Regions from separate parts of the Homo sapiens genome. Here region 2 is linked to region 1. The links are contacts of gene promoters, found by promoter capture Hi-C in blood cells and fetal thymus (Javierre and others, 2016). All regions are on one chromosome and are shown on one strand. Each heading gives the region's core, a stretch centred on a gene start or on the middle of the fragment in contact. The rest is flanking DNA. Distances are from core to core; before and after follow the strand shown.

Region 1 (4,893 bases), core at 1,698-4,197:
ATCCCAGCACTGTGGGAGGCCGAGGTGGGTGGATCATGAGGTCAGGAGTTCAAGGCCAGCCTGGCCAAGATAGTGAAACTCTGTCTGTCCTAAAAATACAAAAAATTAGCCGAGCTCAGTGGCAGGCGCTTGTAATCCCAGCTAGTCGGGAGGCTGAGGCATGAGAATCACTTGAACTCAGTTGCAGTGAGCCGAGATCGCGCCACCGCACTCCAGCCTGGGCAACAGAGTGAGACTGTCTCAAAAAAAATAAAAGAATGAATTGGCCAATGGTATGGCCTACAAGTCCTTATGTATTGACTCAACAATATGCTTAAATAAATCCTGGAAGCTTTCAATTCGGTTTTTCTGAGTTATTGCCCTTTCATCTAAGTGTGCACAACATCAGGTTCCTGGCTGTAAATACAATGTTAATCAAATGGGGTTTATTTACCTTCAAACTACAGTTTGTTACATTATATTCTTCTTTCACTAGTATTAATTCAAAATTAAAGACATCTCCTTTCATTCACGTCGTGTCTCTTCCACCCACTCAGGATTCTGTCCATTTTTCTAGTACTTAGAAATATCATCATTTAGTTAAAACAAATAACATGAAATTTAAAACAATAAAATATGTGTCACCTGAAGGGGTGGGTTGCCCCTCCACACCTGTGGGTGTTTCTCGTTAGGTGGAACGAGAGACTTGGAAAAGAAAAAGACACAGAGACAAAGTATAGAGAAAGAAATAAGGGAGCCCAGGGGACCAGCGTTCAGCATACGGAGGATCCTGCCAGCCTCTGAGTTCCCTTAGTATTTATTGATCATTCTTAGGTGTTTCTCAGAGACGGGGATGTGGCAGGGTCATAGGATAATAGTGGAGAGAAGGTCAGCAGATAAACACGTGAACAAAGGTCTCTGCATCATAGACAAGGTAAAGAATTAAGTGCTGTGCTTTAGATATGCATACACATAAATATCTCAATGCCTTACAGAGCAGTATTGTTGCCCGCATGGCCCACCTCCAGCCCTAAGGCAGTTTTCCCCTATCTCAGTAGATGGAACATACAATCGGGTTTTATACCAAGACATTCCATTGCCCAGGGATGGGCAGGAGACAGATGCCTTCCTCTTGTCTCAACTGCAAAGAGGCATGCCTTCCTCTTATACTAATCCTCCTCAGCACAGACCCTTTACGGGTGTCGGGTTGGAGGACGGTCAGGTCTTTCCCTTCCTACGAGGCCATATTTCAGACTATCACATGGGGAGAAACCTTGGACAACACCTGGCTTTCCTAGGCAGAGGTACCTGCGGCCTTCCGCAGTGTTTGTGTCCCTGGGTACTTGAGATTAGGGAGTGGTGATGACTCTTAAGGAGCATGCCGCCTTCCAGCATCTGTTTAACAAAGCACATCTAGCACAGCCCTTAATCCATTTAACCGTGAGTTGACACAGCACATGTTTCAGAGAGTTCGGGTTTGGGGCTAAGGTTATAGATTAACAGCATCTCAAGGCAGAAGAATTTGTCTTAGTACAGAACAAAATGGAGTCTCCTATGTCTACTTCTTCCTACACAGACACAGTAACAATCTGATCTCTCTTTCTTTTCCCCACAATCACCCATCAAATTGGCATGTTTTAAAAAATGGTTATATTCGGGCTGGGTGCAGTGGCTCACGCCGGTAATCTCAGCATTTTGGGAGGCCAAGGCAGGCAGACCACAAGGTCAGGAGATCGAGACCATCCTGACTAACATGGTGAAACCCCGTCTCTGCTAAAAATACAAAAAATTACCCAGGCGTGGTGGCAGGCACCTGTAGTCCCAGCTACTCGGGAGGCTGAGGCAGGAGAATCGCTTGAACCCTGGAGGCGGAGGTTGCAGTGAGCCGAGATCGCGCCACTGCACTCCATCCTGTCGACAGAATGAGACTCCGTCTCAAAAATAAATAAATAAATAAATAAATATTAGCCAAACATGGTGGCAGGGGGCTTGTAGTCCCAGCTACTTAGATAGCTGAGTTGGGAGGACTGCCTGAGCCCAGGAGTGTGAGGTTACAAGGAGCTATTACTGCACCACTGCACTCCAGCCTGGGTAACGGAGCGACCTTGTCTCTAAAACAAACAAAACCACTACATTTACTCATCCTTTAAGTACCAACATGTTACCTCCTGTGAGAAAATTTTCCAGAAATACCATTTAACACACTAATAGACATGTCTCTCGATTGCTCTATTGCTGATCAATTGTGTATTTCTCCAAGTTGGCCTCCTAATATACCCCAACCCCTCTTTCTTCAAGTTGGAAGCCACATTTATGTAGCTTGAATATTAAAGTTACGTATGTAAACATTTAAAAGCAGGTGAGTTTGTTAACTTCGGCAAGCTTATCAGTAGACAGGGCCTTCCAGTGAAAAGAGCACTTGACTAGAAATTAGGAGATTTAGGTACTGTCCTAAATCTGTTTCTACCTTACTTTCTCTGGCCTCAGTTTTCTCCCTCATAAAGGAATGTATCTACAGCCCTAGTCTCTGGGTGGCGATTTACGGCTTCTCTGCCTTTTATCTTCATTCTCCGATCCATCCCTCTTCATCTTACAGGTGAGGAAACTGCCATCCAGACATTACATATAACTTAGTCAAGATCCTACACTATTAATTAATGGCTAATGGCAAGGGAATCTTGAGATCCTGTACGGCGGCTGACCCATAAAATCTACCTAGTTCTAAAATTCTTTAACCCACCCACTTAACAAAAACGGAGGTAATAGGTAAACAAAACGCCAGGAAAGATCGCACTTAAAGGAACAAAAGCACCCAAGGAGGAAAAAGAGGCCTGAGATTTCCACGAATTACAAGTGAACTTCCTGTCCTGGGTAAACTTCCGGAATCAACAACAGGAAGACCCAATCAGAATCTTCCTCCGGGAGCCAATGGGAGAGCACATTACAAAGAGCCAATCCCAGCGCCGCTGTCACTGTTATGGTCCTGTCAGGGTGCCGGCGTCGTGGTGCTTGGGTGGTCGCCACCAAGAAGACTTTGGTGGGGTAGTCTCGGGGCAGCTCAGCGGCCCGCTGTGCCCGTTTCTGGCCTCGCTCGCAGCTTGCACGTCGAGACTCGTAGGCCGCACCGTAGGGCGAGCGTGCGGGTCGCCGCCGCGGCCGCCTCGGGGTCTGGGCCCAGCCGCAGCCTCTTCTACCGCGGCCGGTTGGGAGTCGCCGCGAGATGCAGCCTCCGGGCCCGCCCCCGGCCTATGCCCCCACTAACGGGGACTTCACCTTTGTCTCCTCAGCAGACGCGGAAGGTGAGGCTGAGCCCCTGGAAGGGCTATCACCCGGAGGAAGCCAGGGCCCGACGCCGTAGGGTCTTTCTGGTGCCGAGGTGGTCGTGGCCGGGTGGGGACAGGCAGGAAGCTGACTGGTGACTGCAGCCCACCACGCCTGCCGGGCCTTCCGAGAGGCCCCGAAGGACGGAGGGAGGGGTGTAGGGAGCTGCTTTTTAAAGCATCAAGTTACTCGGTCAGCCCTTGGTTTTCCCCATACCGTCTGGTGGCTGGTTTTTCTGGGTGGCTTAGTCTCTTCAATTGGACCCACAAAATCCTAAGCTTTTAGTTCTGGAATTACTCGCCCTTACTCAGAAAAAGGACAGATTGGCCAAGGGAGATCTCAAAGAATGAGAAAAAGGAAGGAGGGCTGTTTTCTTCTGTTATGTATCAACAGATAATTTTTTGGGGGGGGTCTGGGATCAGATTCGGCACTGCAAATACAAACTAAATGGTTTTTATTGAATTTGATGTCTTGCCCGAGTCCCCGTTTTCCTCGCATTTTGTAATGTTTCACCTCAGTATTCAGAGAAATTGACGCAGGTATATTGGAAGTTTAGTGTAAACCAACAATGTGTTTCCAGTAGCCTCTACAGATTTCCTTGTATTATTCTGAGGAAGCGATTGTGCTGGAGATATTTTCCTACAGCACAGGAGAATGTTTCCCTCCTATTCTCAGTTCCCTATCCAACTCATAACCTGGATATTATTCTGCTAGTCATTTTCAATTTTTTTTTTTTTCTTGAGCTCTGTCGCCCAGGCTGGAGTGCAGTGGCGCGATCTCGGCTCACTGCAAGCTCCGCCTCCCGGGTTCACGCCATTCTCCTGCCTCAGCCTCCCGAGTAGCTGGGGCTACAGGCACCCGCCACCACCCCCGACTAATTTTTTTTGTATTTTTAGTAGAGATGAGGTTTCACCGTGTTAGCCATGATGGTCTCTCGATCTCCTGACCTCGTGATCCGCCCGCCTCGGCCTCCCAAAGTGCTGGGATTACCGGCGTGAGCCACCGCGCCCCGGCCATTTTCAAATTTTTATTACACTTCGTGCACCAGTTATTTTCCAGTGACCAGACTTACTGGCTGCTATGAAATCATAAATTATGTTTACAGAAATTTCAGTCTGAGAAAGAACCTAGATTTTCCTTTTTTTTTTTTTTTTTTTTTGAGACTGAGTCTCGCTCTGTCGCCCAGGCTGGAGTGCAGTGATGCCATCTCGGCTCACTGCGAGCTCTGCCTCCCGGGTTCACGCCATTCTCTGGCCTCAGCCTCCCGTGTAGCTGGGACTACAGGCGCCCGCCACCACGCCCGGCTAATTTTTTTTTTTTTTGTATTTTTTTTTAGTAGAGACGGGGTTTCATAGTGTTAGCCAGGATGGTCTCGATCTCCTGACCTCGTGATCCGTCCGCCTCGGCCTCCCAAAGTGCTGGGATTACAGGCGTGAGCCACCGCGCCCGGCCGAAAGAACCTAGATTTTCCTAAGAAATTTTATGGTGTATCAGTATAGCTTGTTTTCCCTTTTGTTTTTCTTGTTGTGCTGTTTGGCATTGTTTTTTAAAAATAGTACTGGTCATAATTTAAAATGTACAATAAAATTTTTG
Region 2 (4,893 bases), core at 715-3,214, 420 kb before region 1:
TATCTGATACTAACTAGCTACATAAACAAAAGGAAGTTATGCAATTTGTATGTGTCTCACATACTGTAACAGTAAAATTAAGGTAACAATGTCTGGCCTGTAATCCTTGAGATTAACAGAGCAGGGGAAATGTTGTGAAACAGATTTAAAAATGTTAAAGTACAATACATTAAATAAATAAGGTGTTTTCATTCATGTCCTAAAAAGTCAAAGGTGGAAAGACCCTTAGAAGTAATATTATTCAATTCTAACTCACATTAATAAAGAAATAAACTCTAATCTAGAAAGGAAGAGTGACTCGTTCTAGCAAACCAGTAGCAACTCACCAGCAAAGTTGTAAACAGATTCTAGTCCAGAATTTCTAACACTCCATAAGTATCTTTTTACTTGAGAGTTGGCTGGACATGTCATTGGGCATGCAGCTAAAGCACATTTTATTTAACTTTAAAAAATTTTTCAACACCTTCAAGTAATGGTAAACACCATCGGACATTGCCAAATATGAGCTAGGAATCATGGGCCAACAGGTTCAATTGTACCAGATAACTTACATTACAATTTATTTCATTTAGCATCAAATATACAGCCTAGGAATATTAAATTCTACCCTACCTTAAAGTTACTGAGGACAATGATTTCCATAATCATTGAAAATGAAAAAAGCCAATTAAAAGATGCTTCCAGTGAAAAGGTTTATGCTTTCCTGACCTTTAGAAAACACTTCACATGAAGATTATCTTTTGTTCTCCTTCCTTCAAAATTCAATTCATTGAAACTGAACAAACAGCAACTGAATATCTATTCTGTGCTAAATTCAAATTGATAATAATTTTTTTTTCTTGAGACAGTCTCGCTCTGTCACCCAGACTGGAGTCTGTGGTGGTGCAATCTCAGTTCACAGCAACTTCCGCCTCTCGGGCTCAAGCGATCCTCTCACCTCAACCTCCTGAGTAGCTGAGAGTACAGGTGCATGCTGCCACACCTGGCTCATTTTTTAATTTTAATTTTAATTTTTTTTTTTTTGTAGAGACGCGGTCTCACTATATTGCTCAGGCTGGTCTCAAACTCCTGGACTCAAGCAGTCCTCCCACCTCAGCCTCCCAAAGTGCTGGGATTACAGGCATGAGCCACCGTGTCTGGCCAAATAAAAAATTTTAAATGAAAAAAAAATTCTCAGAAAAAAACTTCCATTTATAAAATAGTTAACAATACTTTTATTAAGTCAAATTCAAGTCTAAGGATTTAATGTTTAAAAACTCGCAAAACTTAGTATGATCTAATTTTTGTTTTCATCGTTTTACTACTTTCTACTAAAATGTAACATCACATTCACTAATTCAGAATATCAGACAAAAATATTAAAATTTTTTCAGAAGTTTACAAAGACCAATTTAAAGATTAAAATTTTTAATTTTATTAGATGTAGTCAAATTAAAAAATTTTTAAAGTTAAATAAAATGTGCTTTCGCTGCATGCCCAATGAATTCAATCCTGCTTATAGTTGCCTCTCTTGGCCTTCAATAGCTTAATAACGGTGTTTAGATTCTCTTTGGTTTCATTATTAGGATGACAGGGAAAAAATATGACTACATCTAATAAAATTACAAACTGAACTTTGCAGTGAGAAATGTTCATTTGAACATAATTTACAATTAATAATAAAAAAACAACTGCATTATAGCATACCTTTCAAACTCAGACAAACTGGCTTTTAAAATTCTTTTCATTATTTTTATAGTGATTGCCAAAATTTTGCATTAGAATTAAATACATGTGCGCACGCACGCGCGCGCGCGCACACACACACACACACACACACACACACAGAGTACACACACATACACAGTAAATGTGATACATCCTGGATACAAACCACTCTGGAATCATCAGAGAACCCTAGAATAAATGACAAATCTGAAACTCCAAAGTTCTTTACATAGTACTAATGAATACTTGAAGACAGGATAGGCAAACAAATCCATCCTCAACAGTGACTTTAAAGAGGTAGAGGTTCCAGTTATCAGCATTACTTGAGAGAGCTTTGTCAAAATGTGTAGCATAGCTATAGATGACAGTATGCCATGCCACTCAGCTGTATGTACTGGTATGTGGTGGGATACTAGAACAGGAAGTAGATAGGAAAACGTCTTATGTGACAGCTGCTCCAGGTTATCCTAATATTTTGACATTAATAGGTATAAAAAAACCAGTCCTTCAAGTTCCTTTTCTGCCAACTGATATGGCTGTGTTTTAGATTGAAAAAGCAGCTCTGTTTAATTGAGTCATTCATTCAAAGACCAACTTTATTTTAGGAAATGGTAGAACTCTGCCCTATATTTAAATGTTTTAACTAAAACAGAATAATTAATTATTCTAAGGTTCCCCCAGTAACTGGTACACCAGTGTTACCCTAGTAACAATAAAGCAATAATCATCAATTTATAATCTCTGTGTTTAAAGTTAGTGTTAAATGGTCAAAATCAATTTTGATTTAAAAATAACTTCTCAACAGTTTTATACAAATAAGTTCCATTTTACTTGTATACTAGCTTTTTTTAGCTTGGTGATCATAATTACACATCTCTAGGTGATACTGATGTTGATAGTCCAGGGACTCTACTTCGATAATCACCAATCTAGCTTTTATCTGAATACTTCTAATGCTTTTATGAGGACAAAGTAAAATTCTCATTATTAGAAATTCTCATTATACAAGGCGAGTGGATCTCTTGAGCCCAGGAGTTTGAGACCAACCTGGGTAACATGGTGAAACCCTGTCTTGAAAGAAAGAGACAGAGAGAGAGAGAAATGGGATTGGGGGGAGGTGGGGAGGGAGGGAGGGAGGGAGGGAGGGAGGAAGGAAGAAAAGAAAGAAAAGAGGGAAAAAGGAGGAAAGAAAGAAAAGAAAGGGAAAAAGGAGGAAAGAAAGAAAGAGGCTGGGTGCAGTGGCTCACACTTGTAATACTAGCACTTTGGGAGGCCGAGGCAGGCAGATCACCTGAGGTCAGGAGTTCAAGACCAGCCTGGCTAACATGGCGAAACCCCGTTTCTACTAAAAATACAAAAATTAGCCAGGTATGGTGGCGGGCGCCTGTAATCCCAGCTACTCAGGAGGCTGAGGCAGGAGAATTGCTTGAACCTGGGAGGCAGAGGTTGCAGTGAGCAGAGATCATGCCACTGCACTCCAGCCTGGGGCAACAGAGCGAGACTGGGGGAGAGGCGGGGAAAGAGAGGGAGGGGAGGGGGAGGGGGAAGGGGAGGGATAGGGAACGGGGAGGGGAAGGGGAAGGGAGAGAAAAGGGAGGGGAAAGGGAGGAAGGAAAAGGAAAGGAAAGAATTCTCATTAGAGAATATTCAACGTAAAACCAGAAGCTCCCATTTCTTATAATTTTTCTACCCAGAACAACACAGAACAAATACTATTCTTTCTCATATATGAAGGTCACTCAATCTGAAGAAAACTCCCTATCTTTAAACTTACCTTCTCAAAAATAAGACTCACCAATTTCTTCAACCACATCTCACTCTCTAGACTATCAAAGCCTTTTATCATTCCTTATAGACACTATAGTTCTTAGTGTCCCCTTTAATACATGGCACTTACAATTTAACACAATAAAAACGTCTTAAATCTCAGTAACAGTGTACATGTGGCTTATTAATCTACTAGTCAATATCAGCTTTGTAAGTACACTAGTTCTTTCAACAACTGTATTATAGCACTTCCCAAATGCCAGTCTATGGACTAATTAACTCGATAAATTTTTCAGTGATGCAGAGTAAATGAGAAAATACCAGTGTAGTAATTTTTTCATTAACTTAAAGTTATTCAAGTTAAATTACTCTATTACTCTGAGTTTAAGTCCTTCCTAAATATTGGGAGTCACTTTTAAAATAAAATGGTAAGGGAAGATAGTAGTTGTCTTTTCAAAAGTCCTTACACGGCAAAATTAAGTTTTACATTTCACAGTCCTTTTTAAAAATGTTGGTCTAGTGTCCTAAAATACTCAGGTAAAAAGGTTCATCTGATCTAGCTTCTGCTATCATCTAGGTAGCCAAGCACTTAGAATAATTTAAAGAATTTGCAACAACCAATCACAAGCTCCACCGATCACTTTTTTGATTAGTTTATTGCAGCAAAGTAAACCTCCCAATGGATTCCAGCAAATAAAAGGGCTTCAAAGTTATTCAACACTAATTTCCAAGACTTCTTAGTTTCCCATACCCATTTCCCACTTACCTTTATGATCCTAAATAACACTCCAACCAGTCAATCTGACTACATCAAAATAAGACAGGATTGTGATGGCAAAAACTTACCACCGCTTTTTGCAGTTTAGATTATTTGCCAACTTTTGAACTACAAACGGCACCATCTATGACAGGAGACAGCAAATTATGGCCCACAGGCCAAATCCAGCTCACCATCTTTGTGTAAATAAACTTTTATTAGAACACATTCACATTCATTTGATTACACATTGTCTATGGTGGCTTTTGTGCTACAATTGCAGAGGAAAATAGTAAGGACAGACTATATGGCCTGTGAAGCCCAAAATATTTACTATCTGGTCTTTTACAGAAACATTTACCAACCTGAAAACTCAGGGAATAAACTATTTGCTACCAAAGCAATATTTAAGATCTGTAACATTAACCATTTACTAGCTCAGAACACCAGCCATCTAAATGGGAATATCTAAATACAAATACTGGTATATCTGAATAGTTCTTTATCCTACTCTGTATGAAGATTTGTTGCCCACCCAAGACAGAGCACTTACTTACCTGCTCAGTGAGCTAATCTTTAACATACATTTCTCAAGGATTCACTAGCGGAATAGTGAAGAATCCATGAATATGCTGCTCTGTGCAATCTAAGGTTAAAAAAAA

Evidence for each region. Contacts are between HindIII fragments. The CHiCAGO score rates a contact against its expected background, and 5 or more counts as called.
Region 2: a contact is called between a fragment that was not itself captured here and the fragment with the promoter of YIPF4 in region 1, in 1 of 17 cell types (total CD4 T cells). The highest score is 5.0, in total CD4 T cells.

Annotation. Positions count from the first base shown.
Region 1 is chr2:32,274,957-32,279,849 of GRCh38, forward strand. It overlaps YIPF4 (Yip1 domain family member 4), which reads left to right and starts at 2,948. Exons shown (of 6, transcript NM_032312.4): 1 at 2,948-3,278. The coding sequence starts at 3,200. RefSeq lists an enhancer at 2,063-2,808 and a silencer at 3,046-3,155. The HindIII fragment of the contact is 1,217 bases long and covers 2,360-3,576 here.
Region 2 is chr2:31,860,118-31,865,010 of GRCh38, forward strand. No RefSeq gene overlaps it. Among named protein-coding and RNA genes, the nearest start is that of LINC01946, 59 kb to the left of the region's middle. The HindIII fragment of the contact is 6,102 bases long and covers 1-4,893 here.